Regions from separate parts of the Homo sapiens genome. Here region 1 is linked to region 2. Evidence: promoter capture Hi-C in human tissues and cell types (Jung and others, 2019). All regions are on one chromosome and are shown on one strand. The core of a region is centred on a gene start or on the middle of the fragment in contact, and the rest is flanking DNA. Distances in the headings are between cores, read along the strand shown. Region 1 overlaps FAM168B (family with sequence similarity 168 member B). Region 2 holds the start of PLEKHB2 (pleckstrin homology domain containing B2).

Evidence for each region. The method cuts DNA at HindIII sites, captures the fragments that hold promoters and counts their contacts. A contact is called where the count stands out against the background at its distance.
Region 1: a fragment that was not itself captured here is called in contact with the fragment with the promoter of PLEKHB2 in region 2 in 1 of the 25 tissues and cell types used here (hippocampus).

The regions. Positions count from the first base shown.
Region 1 is chr2:131,062,274-131,068,847 of GRCh38, reverse strand. The region is part of intron 3 of FAM168B (family with sequence similarity 168 member B); the gene reads left to right. Among named protein-coding and RNA genes, the nearest start is that of FAM168B, 28 kb to the left of the region's middle. The HindIII fragment of the contact is 6,063 bases long and covers 350-6,412 here.
Region 2 is chr2:131,102,371-131,109,325 of GRCh38, reverse strand. PLEKHB2 (pleckstrin homology domain containing B2) reads right to left here and starts at 3,990. Exons shown (of 8, transcript NM_001100623.2): 1 at 3,928-3,990. RefSeq lists an enhancer at 4,137-4,266. The HindIII fragment of the contact is 2,981 bases long and covers 3,301-6,281 here.

The sequences.
Region 1 (6,574 bases), core at 2,132-4,631, 40 kb after region 2:
AGATGGGTTTCACTATGTTGTCTAGGCTGGTCGCAAACTCCTGGGCTTAAGTGATCCTCCTGCCTCAGCCTTCCAAAGTGCTGGGATTATAGCCGTGAGCTACCATGCCCAGCTTGTCACCCATCTTCTCGAACATCTCTCCTTTCTCATAGGGAGGTAAGGCCTGTGTTGTCCCTTTTCCAAGACTGCTCTCAAATTGTTCCTGTAATCCAGAAGCTGGGACAGGCAGGTAGCAACTGCAGCTGCCCAAACGGCCTACCTTGTTTAGAGGGGCATCTGCTGACGGGTGCCAGGCAGTTGTTAGGTGCCAGACTGCTGGCTCACCAGTGCCAGATCTTCTGGTCTTGTAGGAGAAGCTGTGAAATTGGTGAATGAAAAATATAAGGCAGCCGGGCACGGTGGTTTTCATTCCTGTAATCCTAGCACTTTGGGTTGCCAAGGTGGGCAGATCACTTGAGGCCAGGAATTCAAGACCAGCCTGGCCAATACAGTGAGACCCCATCTCTACTAAAAATACAAAAATGAGCCGAGTGTGGTGGCACACACTTGTAGTCCCAGCTGTTCAGGAGGCTGAGGCAGGAGAATCACTTGAACCTGGGAGGCAGAGGTTGCAGTGAGCCAAAATCGCACCACTGCACTGCAGCCTGTGTGACAGAGCGAGACTCTGTCTCAAAAAAAGAAAAAAGAAAAAGTCTTTCTGATGTCCCACAAGTGCTGTTGTCCATCTAACCTGAGTCTGGACCACAGCTGTGTGCCCATCTTTTTCTGGTATCCTCTCTGTTTTCATGTCTTGGGTGTTTGTTTTTAAGAGATGGGGGTCTTGTGGTTTCACCCAGGGTAAAGTCCAGTGGTACAGTTACAGCCTTTTTCTGCTGAGTTCAAGGGATTTTCCCAACGCAGCATCCCAAAGCGTTGGGATTACAGGCATAAACCACCACACCCAGCTTCATGTTTTGAATTTTATAACTCCCTTTTCAGTGAGCCTTTCCCTTTTTCTGATGAGCAAGCCAAAATTATCAGTATAAAAAATTTAAAAGAGAAGTTTTTCTCCCTTCCTGCTGCTTTTTCTCTGTCTTTCTCTGAAGGTGTGTGGAGGTGGGTGTGTATGTGTGTGTGTGTGTGTGAGTGTGATAGGATCTCACTTTGTTGCCTAGGCTGGAGTGCAGTGGCATGAACTTGGCTCACTGCCAAGCAATCCTGCCTCAGCTTCCCAAGTACCTGGAACCTTAGGCACAAGTCACCACACCTAGATTATTTTTTAAAAATTTTTGTAGAGATGGGGTCTCACTGTATTGCCCAAGCTGGTTTCAAATTCCTGAGCACAAGCAGTCCTCTCATCTTGACCTCTCAAAGTGTTGGGATTACAGGAGTGAGCCACTACACCCAGCCCCTGCTGCTTTCTTGATCTTGCCGTTCAGTTTGCACCCAATGCTGACTTGTGGTTTCAACGCTGTATATGCGGAGTCTGACTTCCAGAGCACTTTTGTAATCCAAATGCCACGTATTTCTTAGCCCTCTTCCAATTGTGATATAAGAGGATTCCGAGACCCTTGTGATGAGATGTCTTTTGCTGAAGAATTCTGTTTTTCAGAATCTGGGAATGGAGAAGGTGTCATTCATTTTGTCCTCCTGAACAAGGCTGTGTATGCACACATCAAGAGTGGTGGTGATATGGTTTGGCTGTGTCCCCACCCAAATCTCATCTTGAATTGTAGCTCCTGTAATCCCCACATGTCACTGGAGGGACCTGGTGGGAGGTAATTGAATCATGGGGGTGGATTTTTCCTGTGCTGTTCCCATGATAGTGAATAAGTCTCACGAGATCTGATGGTTTTATAAAGGGCAGTTCCCCTGCACACGTTTGCTCTTCCTTTGCCTTCCACCATGATTGTGAGGCCTCCCCAGCCATGTGTAACTGTGAGTCCATTAAACCTCTTTCCTTTATAAATTACCCAGTCTCGGGTATTTCTTTATTAGTAGTATGAGAATGAACTAATACAACTGGGCTGTCCATTTTTGGAATCAGAGCTTTGAATTGTGGAGTTAGCTAGATGTGGATTATACTCCTGACTGTGTCACTCCCTGGGAAAGTTGTTTAACTTCACCCTTGGCATTGGAATAATGAATAAATAACTCCTTGATTTCTTATGGGAGGATTTCAGCCCCAAGCCTACGATCAGGCATAGATGTCAGCTGGGCCAGCACATTGAGGCCTCTGTTCTGGTCCTACTTAGAGTCACAAGTACCTGTAACTAATATTGGTAATGATGATCTGAAATTGTCAAAACAGTCTGTTCTTTGTAATAAGCTCTACACACAAGGTTGTTTAGATATTTATTACATTAGCACTTATTTTTAAAAGGTACAAATTTAGGCCGGGTGCAATGGCTCATGCCTGTAATCCCAGCACTTTGGGAGGCCGAGGCGGACGGATCACGAGGTCAGGAGATCGAGACCATCCTGGCTAACACGGTGAAACCCCGTCTCTACTAAAAATACAGAAAATTAGCCGGGTGTGGTGGTGGGCGCCTGTAGTCCCAGCTACTCGGGAGGTTGAGGCAGAAGAATGGCATGAACCTGGGAGGCGGAGCTTGCAGTGAGTGAGTCGAGATCGAGATCGCACCACTGCACTCCAGCCTGGGCGACAGAGCGAGACTCCACTCAGTCTCAAAAAAAAAAAAAAAAAGATACAAATGTTGCAAAGAGTGATGGAGTGATGAAATAGCTTCCATGGTCATTGGTGTGTATGGCTGGGTGGAGGGTAAATTGGAGAAACTTCTTTGGAGGGCAGTTTGGTAGTGTATGTTAGAAGCTTAAAAATGAACCCTTTCGACCCACTTCTAGGAATGTATTCTAAGGGCAATAATTGGATGTGCAAACATTTATGTACAGGTACACATGCATTTAATTACGAAGTGATGGTTTAATTAAACTGTTTATCACACAGTGTTTATCTGGTTTTGGTACTTGTTTATGGAGAATATTTAATGATAAGTGAAAATGGTTTACAGTAGAGCTTTCTTTTCTTTTTTTTTTTTTTCTTTTTTTCTTTTTTTTTTGAGCTGGAGTCTCGCTCTGTTGCCCAGGCTGGAGTGCAGTAGTGCGATCTCAGCTCACTGCAAGCCTTGCCACCTGGGTTCAAGCGATTCTCCTGCCTCAGCCTCCTGAGAAGCTGGAATTACAGGCGCTCTCCACCACGCCGGCTAATTTTTGTATTGTTAGTAGAGACGGGGTTTCTCCATGTGTGTCAGGCTGGTCTTGAACTCCTGACCTCAGGCGATCCCGCCCACCTAAGCCTCCCAAAGTGCTGGGATTACAGACATGAGCCCCCATGCCCGGCGTTTCTTTTCTTTTTGAACTCAGAATTATAGCCATAAAATGAAACCCTTGGTTTGTTTAAAAATTAAACTTCATGCATGGCAGCCGAGGGGGAGAGAATAGCCTTTGGAATATTAATAGTCTGTGAGGTCTTGTGGAGCCTGTTTCTTTCCCTCTTAAAGGTTTACATTCATAGAGGTAAAAGATTGCAGTGCTCCACAAGGCTTTTAAAAATGAACAATAGCAGTTGCCTGCTCCCTTGTGGGAGCCCCCACATTTCACTCCCCATGGGCAAACTCCAGCTCTTTAACTCTTTAAAGCTGCTTTTGCTCGTGCCTTCCGTGCTTCCACATGACATGTTTCTGCTGTTCCCTGCTTCTTTTTTTGTTTGTTTTTGTAAAGTGGCACTGCTTTACTGACTTCTCACTTTGCTGCCCCGACCTTCCTTCACAGTTCTATTATTGTGGCCGCATCAGCACTGTTCACGGCTGTGTCTTCTGTGCGGCGATCCTGTTGTCCTGTGCCCTGTTGCAGTTTCTTCTGCATCTACTGCGGTGTCCCTGGAATTAATACTGTACTTATCTGGTGTCTTTGATTAGGTTTCTGTGACCATAGCATTAATTAAACCTCCAGCTACCCCCGATGTGTTGAGATCTCTTCTTAGCAATTTCAGATACTTGTGTGTTGTTTTCCTGGTGATCTCTGAAGCCCTCCCTTCCTCTCTCTTATCTGGACTGGTTGTCCTCTGGGCCAGACCCTGGGGGGGTCACTGTTCTCATCATCCCAGGGCTTGCTTTTGCCTTTCCCTTCTGCCTGAGTTCTTTTCTTTTTTCCTCGTTTACTCTGGTTTTGGCGGGGGATTTTCTTCAGTAACCACCTGGGAGAGTATGGAAAAGTCACAATTTTGAGATTTTCCATGTCTGAAAACATTTTATTCTGCACGCACACTTCGTTGATGGTTGTCTGGATACAGAATTCTAGAGAGCAGTTATTTCCCCCCAGAATATTCGGGTGTTTGCTCAATGGCTTTCCAGCTTCCACCACTGTTGCTGAGAATTGGGGTACCTTGTTGGTGCCTGATTGAGTGTAACCTTGGTTTTTCTTTGCTATTCTGTAGGATTTTTGCCTCCAGTGTTCAGAAATTTCATGATGCTGTGTTTTGGCACAGATCTTCTCTCCTCACATGTACTTCAGGCTTCTGAATTTTTTAAATTTTCTAAATAAATGTCTTTTTTTACTCAAAAAATTATTATAAAAAAATCCGCGTGGTACACAGTACTTTTGAAAAAAAAAATGACCTATTTAAATAAAAAGTTTCTGGTTCCCGAACAGTTGGCATTCTAAAATCAGTGACCCTGTGCATGTCCTCTTCCCTGAGGGCACAGCCAGGGTCACTCACAGGTCTGGTGAAGTGGAAGGAGGGAGCGTCTGTTGTCTGCGCCGCCTGGGTTGCATCAGTACAGATGGGCTTCCTGGGGAGGGAGAATCTGAAAAGCTGTTGTTTTGGAAAGACCTAGCACTGAATGAATTTGATATTTCAGGGAGGCAGTGTATATTTTTGGGTACGATGAGGTAATTGTGTGTATTTATTTAAAGTTTGTGAAGTTCCTGTTGAGTTACTATGGAGGGATATGGTGGACTTAGTGCTGAATGAAAAAAAAAAGGTGGCAAGCACACACTGTCTATTTTTAATTAAAAAAATTTTTTTACTTAGTGTTTTAAATTTTTAAAATTATTATTATTAGTTTTTAGAGACAGGGTCTTGCTCAGTCGCCCAGGCTGGAGTGTGGTTGCACAATCATAGCTCACTGTAACCCAGAATTGCTGTGCTCAATGAGCGATCCTCCTGCCTTGGCCTCCTAAATCGCTGAGACTACAGGTACACCCCACCATGCCTTGCTAATTTTTATTTTGTAGAGACAAGGTCTCGCTATGCTGCTCAGGCCAGTCTCAGAACTCTTGGAATCAAGTTATCCTCCCATCTTGGCCTTCTAAAGTGTTGGGATTACAGGTGTGCACCATAGCTCTTGGCCCCACACTAAGTCTTAAATTGATAGGGAGACCTGTTTGCCTTACTTGAAATGCACTTGTCTTAAGTGCTGGCTAGAAAATGGTGTAATATTCATGCCTAAACCAAAGACCAAAAGTTTTCTGGTGAGCATTAGAACGTAGCCTCACAGTCATAAGAATAAACAGTAAGATAATATATATTAAAAACCATTGTTGTGATTAGAAATCGTTGGTGACTTTTTTCAACATTTTATTGTAAAAAATTTCAGATGTCACAGAAAAGTTGCAGAAATTTCACAGTGATCACCTATATATGGACTGCTAAGATTCTACGATTAAATTTTTTAAATTTAAAAAATTTCAGATGTCACAGAAAAGTTGCAGAAACTTCACAGTGATCACCTATATATGGACTGCTAAGATTCTACGATTAAACTTTTTAACGTCAACTTTTACAAGTAACATTTTACTTGTATCACATACACATTACTCCATCCATCCTTCAGTCCATCTTATTTTTTGATGGGTTTCATTTCAGAGTAAGTTGTGGTCCTCAGTATATCTTACCTCAATAACTTGAGCATGCACATCATTATTTGTTTAGTTCCTTTTTGGTTTTGTTTTTAAGTAAAATGTGCATGTGTGAAATGCACAAGTTTAGCATCCCATGCATTGCATGCTGAGTTGCATATGCATGCTTCCTTGGAGCAGTCGCTCCTTTTGCTTCAGCAACGCCTACCTGTAAAGTAGGTGTTGTAAGACACCTTGGGTAGGCCGGACGCGGCGGCTCATACCTGTAATCCCAGCACTTTGGGAGGCCGAGGTGGGTGGATCACTTGAGATCAGGACTTCGAGACCAGCCTGGCCAACATAGGTGAATCCAGTCTCTACTAAAAATACAAAAATTAGCTAAGCATGGTGGTGCACGCTTGTAATCCCAGCTACTCGGGAGGCTGAGGTAGAAGAATCGCTTGAACCCGGGAGGCAGAGGTTGCAGTGAGCTGAGATAGCACCGCTGCACTCCAACCTGGGCAACAGAGCGAGACTCCGTCTCAAAACAAAAACAAAAAAGACACCTTGGGTGATTGGATTGGGAAACCTAGGGCTAGCTGCAGGGATTTCTGCAGTGGGAGGCTTCCAGTAGAAGAAAAGGAAGACATCGTAGGTGGGCCCCTCGACTGTGTATCCTAAGGAAATGAGGCATGAAAAAGGACTTCACCTTTTTTCAGTGGCTGTGGTGGGCCAG
Region 2 (6,955 bases), core at 2,741-5,240:
TACCAAAACAAAAAAACCAACCTAAATTAATCTACCTATTTGAACCTTCCAACAGTGCTCTGCTTTCGTTTTTAAATTGGGGAGAGAAATTTAGAGAGTATCTTTAGAAACCAAAAATCATGAAGTATGATTTTGATCACATTTTGTTTTGTTTTTGTAGAGACGAGGTTTCACTATGTTGCCCAAGCTGGTCTCGAACTCCTGGGCTCAAGGGATTCTTCCATCTCAGCCTCCCAAAGTTCTGGGATTACAGGTATGAGCCACTGCAGTCAGCCTATCATATGCTTTTGAAATTTCACAGAACCCAGTGTTTGGGTATAAGCTTTAGAGTTAAAAGACCTATGTTCAGATCCTGACTCAATCGGACAAGTCACGTTTCCAAGCCTGATCTATAAAACGAAAATTCCCACCACCTACTTGACAGGATGTTCGGAAAATTGGGTGAAATAATATGTAAGTAGTTGGCATGGTGCCTCACAGTTACTAGAACTCGATAAATGGTAGCTGCTTTGACAGCAATTATTACTATTTACTACTATTATTACTATTACTTATTTTCCCCCTTACCAAAATTTGCCGAAAATATTCTAGAACAAGCTTGTCCAACTCATGGCCCCAGCCCAGGTCAGCTTTGAATGCAGCCCAACACAAATTTGTAAACTTTCTTAAAACGTTATGAGATTTTTTTGCAATTTTATTTTTTAGTGCATCAGCTATCATTAGGGTTAGTGTATTTTATGTATGGCCTTCTTCCAATGTGGCCCAAGAAAGTCTAAAGATTGGACAGCCCTGTTCTAAGAACAAGGACATCAAGCTGCTTCTCAAATGGCTCAGAAGACTTCTGTTTGATTGCCTTAGCATGCTGAATTTCACACCACTCCATAACTTAATTCAACATTTCACTATTTATATCCTGGAGCAAAACTGAATGCATAAACTAAAACTCATCAGATAAACACTAAGCCCTAGCTGTTGGTCTCTAGAGAATAAAACACCAGCAAACTAGCTGCAAAAGAACATTATTTTTATGCCAATAAAACCTATGCAAAGCTTTAAAATGTAAGCCATATTCAACAATTTAAATTATTTTAAATTTGAATTTGTATCTCTTTGAAAGCATTGAATCGAAACAGACAACAGATGGACAAAAAATACTGCCTTTGGAATCTGACAGTTCTAAGCCTGAAGCCTACTTTGCCTTCTACTCACTAGTATGACCTTCAGCAAAATTCTAAACCTCTCTAAGCCTCAGTTTTCTTACCTGTATGACCAGGCACAACCAATTACGTCATGGGGTTACTGTGACAATTAAAGGAGGTATGTCCAAACAGCCCTGTAGTAGATGGTCCAAAAGTGAGAATTGGCCAGGCGCGTTGGCTCACGCCTATAATCCCAACACTTTGGGAGGCCAAGGCAGGCGGATCACCTGAGGTCAGGAGTTCGAGACCAGCCTGACCAACATAGTGAAACCCCATCTCTATTAAAAATACAAAAAATTAGCCGAGCATGGTGGCGCACGCCTGTAATCCCAGCTATTTGGGGGGCAGAGGCAGGGGACTCCCTTGAACCCGGGAAGCGGAGGTTGCAGTGAGCCGAGACTGCGCCATCGCACTCCAGCCTAAGCAACAGGAGTGAAACTCCGTCTCAAAAAAATAAAAAATAAAAAAGTGAGAACTGCTACAATTACATTACTATTTTGTTCCAAAAGCTAGAATTCAGGTTTAACTGTCTACAACTCCTCATGATATCCCAGTTCTCCAGCTCTCTTTCGCTATAAAAGTGGCTTCCTTATGAAAAAGGAAGAAAACTCATCTCTGTTCTTCAAGGGCAACAGTGGAGAGTCAAAGAGATGTCACAGGTACATTCTGAAACAGAAGGGAAAGAAGGTTGGGTGACCCATCAACATGTAGAGGTCAGTTCCCACGTGGCATTGGCCATTTCCAGTTGGGAACCACTTCTTAACAACAAGCCTAATACAAGCACCATCAAAGGGCAGACAGGCAAAGAAAGCAAAGAGGCAAGGAAGTCCAACTTTCCGTTTCCATGATCCACTGTGGAAGCAAATATATAACTAACAAAACAACTGGGTCAATTAGCCCCCACTTTGGGAGCATTTTTAACAGTGTGTTTTGCAGTTTTTGGTAGTTACTGTTATTAATAAGGTAATTCTTTAATTTCTTTAGACAAACAGTAAGAAGGCAGGCAGAGGAAAGGAGAAACAAAAATATTAATGCAAGCTGAAAAGCATAAGCAAAGCTTTCAGAAAGAGCTGAGAGAAACCTCCACCTTCCCAAGGAGTAACACCACAAGAGTATCTGTCCTCTCTATACCACTGCTGTACACATTTAATCAACTCAGTCCTTGAGAATAGCAGGAAATTTACTTACAGAATGTACCACCGCCTTTAAAATATAATGCTAGCAAAGAACCGCTGTCAGGTTCTGAGTTCTTTTCTGCAGCCTTCTTCAATAAGCATTTACTGACCACCTACAAAGTGCCAAACACTATGCTGTTTATTAGGGAAACCCTGCAACACAGTTTGATTCCTGTCCTCAGGGAGATCAGTACGAATAGGGAAGAGTCGAGTAAAGAGATCACCACCACAGAGAGTAAACACCAGGCACAAAGGAAGCCCAGACAAGCTCCAGTCCTATCAATATCCAGCCAACCAGCCCAGGGTTAGGAACTTTCTGAACCTAGGGAACACTCCTGAGCACCACAATTGAACCGTCACAGCAGTATTCCCACACCCCCACAGGTCCTTAGGCAGACACACCCACTGCATGGGCACAGACGCACAGCTGTGTCTGTGCATACATGTTTTGGTCATTAGTTTAGTCAACAAATACTGAGGGCCACACTAAACAGGCAGTTACCAGTGCCAGCTCGGGTCCTAATTCCTCATGTGACTTCGGACAAGTCACTTCCTGAATTGGTACTGGTTCATACCAAAGGCCACAGAAGACCTTGGAATATTCCTCCCCTCAGCTGTCAGCCCTCCTCCCTCGGTGGTGGTTCCACCCTTTCCTAAGCACTAAAAATTTAAAGGCTGAGACCATGAGTCAGTATTATTTTGAATTAACCATGTTCCTTTAATTTTTTACAGTGACCACTCCACCTCATTCCTTTCCTCCACCCACCCTGAACCGGTCTACATTTGAGATTTAAGCGGGGTGGCGGGGCGGGGATCCCTATGCAAATCCCTGACCTCCGGAGTTTTCAATCTAGTTGAGTAACAGAATCAAACATGAAGAGAGATATGTAAGATAAGGTACACCAAGCACTTATGACTAAAGACATTGCAAGGCCAAGAGCAGGTGAAATGCAGCGGGGGCGGACCGCACCGCGAGGGTAAAGCCTCAACGCCCCCCGGGACTTAAGGAGGGGAGACCTCTGGGCAGGAGAACTGAGAAGGCAAGTTCCCTGGAGCAGAGGGAGCAGCAGGGGTAGAGATCGGACGCCGGGAGACCCCAGGCGGCGGGCCGCAGCAGGTCCCGGCAGTCAGACATGTGGGACACTCCCGAGCGGCCAGAAAGGATGCAAGGCGGAGGCTGCAGTCGGGAAAGGAGGAGGGTCCGCGGGGCCGGAGAGGAGGGGCTCGGGGAAAGGACCGGAGGCGGACGCCGGGGAAGCGATGGGAAGGGGTCTGAGAGGCCGGGGGGGCCCACTGGGAGGGCTCTCGAATGGGCTGCTCTAGGGGAGACTGAGAGGGCGGACCTGGGGAAGGTCAGGGTGGTCCAGGGAGGTGGGCGGACCCGTGGCCAGGAGCCTCAGGGAAAATTAGGGAGTGGGGACACCGCGGAGGTGGCGCGGTGCGGGGTCCCCTCAGAGGGGCGCGAGGCTGGGCAGCTCTAGAGGAGAATCTGGAGAGGCGCGGGCCAGAGGGGAAAGGAGCTAGGGTCGTCCGGACTAAACAGGGACACTCACCTGCGAACCAGCGTGGAGAACACCAAGACGCCACGGCGATTCCTCGCCTGCTCGCCTGCAACTGCCGCACGTCCGGCGTCCTGGCCGCCGTTCTGACGTCACGCCTCGGCGCGCATGCGCGGCGGGCCCCGGCCGGTGGGGCGGGGTGTCTGGGTGGTTTTCTGAGAAACGGGACGGAAGGCGGCAGGGGGCGTGGGTCTCCCAGGAGGTCGGCGCTTCCACTAAAAGGAAGTGTTACAAAGTGAGATCCTGTCTTAAAAATATAAAAATTTAAAAAAAAATTGTTAGCACCCTAATCTTGGTTTCTAAATACCGCTCTCTAAAAATAGGGCCAAGGCGCCTTAGAGAAATGGGCGACTCTAGGACCCGGGCGCAGAAAGCTCCAGCTGAGCCGGGAGCGTTTTGTAGGCCAGAAGCTTGAGGTGCTCAAAAAACTGAAGGACCGGGCGTCCAAGGGCGCAGGGATCTACCCAGAGAGCTTCCGGGGGCCGCGCCTGGGACAATTTGAGCAGCAATATAAAGTACATTGCATTAAGTTATAACCTAAAGTATAAAACAGCCCAGAGCCCGTGCTGCTATAAATACGTGATTAAATAAATGAGGGAGAAGGGATAATCTTCCTTGCAGAGGAATTCTAATAATACCTCATCCAGAGGGGTGTGGTAATCCGTCCACACCCACCCTGAGTGTGGCCTATGCCTGGGGACGACCTTTCCAAGAGTACAGTGTGGAAAGAGGGCTGTAGAGCCACTCCACGTGAAAATCAAAGTGATTAGTCACTGCACTTGCCCTTGACATGTGATTAAAAAAAAAACCGTGACCTCAGTCTAACTGAAAGATAAACATCAGACAAATCTCGTTTGTGGGATATTCCTCAAAACACCTCACCAGTACTCCTCAAACTATCAAGGTAATCAAAAGCAAGAAAAAAACTGAGACACTGTCATATGCAACATGGTGATGTAGCTAGGCTATAAACTTAAAATAAAATTTAAGTTTAGGTAATAGTAGTTTTTAGTTATAAGAAATGTATAATGGTTATGTAAGATGTTAACATTAGGAGAAATTGTGTGAAGGGTATACTAGCTTTATAACTTTTTTGTAGTCTAAAATTATTCCAGATGAAAAGTTGGGGGTTTTCTGAAGACAATAGAGGGAAAATAAATGTTAGCCAGGTGAGATGGTTCATGCCAGTAATCCCAGAGCTTTGCGAGCCAGAGGCAGGAGGATTGCTTGAGCCCAGAAGTTTGACCTGCAATCAAGCCACTGCGTTCCAGCCTAGCAGGGGTTGGGGGGTGGTGTAGGGGTACTGCCTGGAAAGAGGCTTGAGAGAGCCTCCTGGCAACCCCACTCCTAGGGTGCTGAAAATGTTCTATACATTGATCTGAGTGGTGGGTACGTGTGTGTAAGTAAAACTTTATCAAGCTGAACACTATACTTAACATTTGTACATTTTTGGCCGGGCACAGTGGCTCACGCCTGTAATCCCAGCACTTTGGGAGGCCGAGGCAGGCAGATCACGAGGTCAGGAGTTTGAGACCAGCCTGACCAACGTGGTGAAACACCGTCCATACTAAAAATACAAAAAAAAATTAGTCAGGCCTGGTGGTGCGCTTGTAATCCCAGATACTCAGAGACTAAAAATACAAAAATTAGCCAGGCGTGGTGGCGGGCGCCGGTAGTCCCAGCTACTTGGGAGGCTGAGGCAGGAAAATGGTGTGAACCCGGGAGGCAGACGTTGCACTGAGCCGAGATCACGCCACTGCACTCCAGCCTAGGCGACAGAGAGACTCCATCTAAAAAAAAAAAAAAAAAAAAAAAAGATTTGTACATTTTTCTGTGTATAAATTATATCTAAATTTAAAAGGGAAAAACTCTTAAAAAAAATATTGGAAGAGCCCTATTATTATTGGTCTTCAAAACCCCAAACTCTGCCAATCAGGGCCCCTGTCTTAACCCAGCTCCTCTCTGGGGAAAATTTAAAAAATGCAGGGTAGGGAGTCCTATGATGCCTGCAATCCCATCTTTTGCAAGATATTATAGCTTAGTCAACACAAGAGTTCAGAGATTTGTGTGACATGGGGTTCTTCCTGGTTCCGCTGCTTCTGGATGAGCTCGGGTAAATTGCCTGACATCAACAAGCTTCTTGACCAGCCCTCATTAAGGCTATACTAGCCCTGACCACCTTCAGGGTCAGTCTTAGGGACCTTTCAGGGTCTGAGTTTGGAGTATCCAAAAATACACTAACACATTCTCTCTGAGTGATGGGACTGTGGATGACATTTCTTTTTTCTACTTTTCTGCATTTTCCAAGTTTTCTTTCATGAATATGTATCACTTCAACAACAGGAAAAAGTAATATTTAAGGCTGGGTGTGATGGCTCACGTCTATAATCCCAGCACTTTGGGAGGCCAAGACAGGAGAATTACTTGAGCCCAGGAGTTCAAGACCAGCTTGGGCAACACAGTGGGACACTTTCTCTACAAAAAAATAAAAATAAAAAAATTAGACTGGCATGGTGGCATGCATCTGTAGTCCCAGCTACTTGAGAGGCTGAGAGGGAAGCTTCACTAGAATCCGGGAGGTCAAGGGTGCAGTGAGCCATGATTGTGTCACTGCACTCCAGGTTGAGCAAAAGAATGAGACCCTGCCTCAAAATAATAATAATTTTTTTTTTGAGATGGAGTCTCACTGTCACCCAGGCTGGTGGACAGTGGCACCATCTAGGCTCACTGCAACCTCCGCCTCCTGGGTTCAAGCAATTATTCTGCCTCAGCCTCCTGAGTAGCTGGGAATACAGGTGTGCGCCCCCACACCCAGCTATTTATTTTGTATTTTTAGTAGAGACAGGGTTTCATCATGTTGGCCAGGCTGGTCTCAAACTCCCGACCTCGTGATCCACCTGCCTCGGCCTCCCAAAATGCTGGGATTACAGGCGTAAGCCACTGCACCCAGACAAAAAAAAAGTAATATTTTAATAAAGTTCAGTTTAAGTAGGCGTTCCAGTACCTGGAGGAGGGAGTGTCC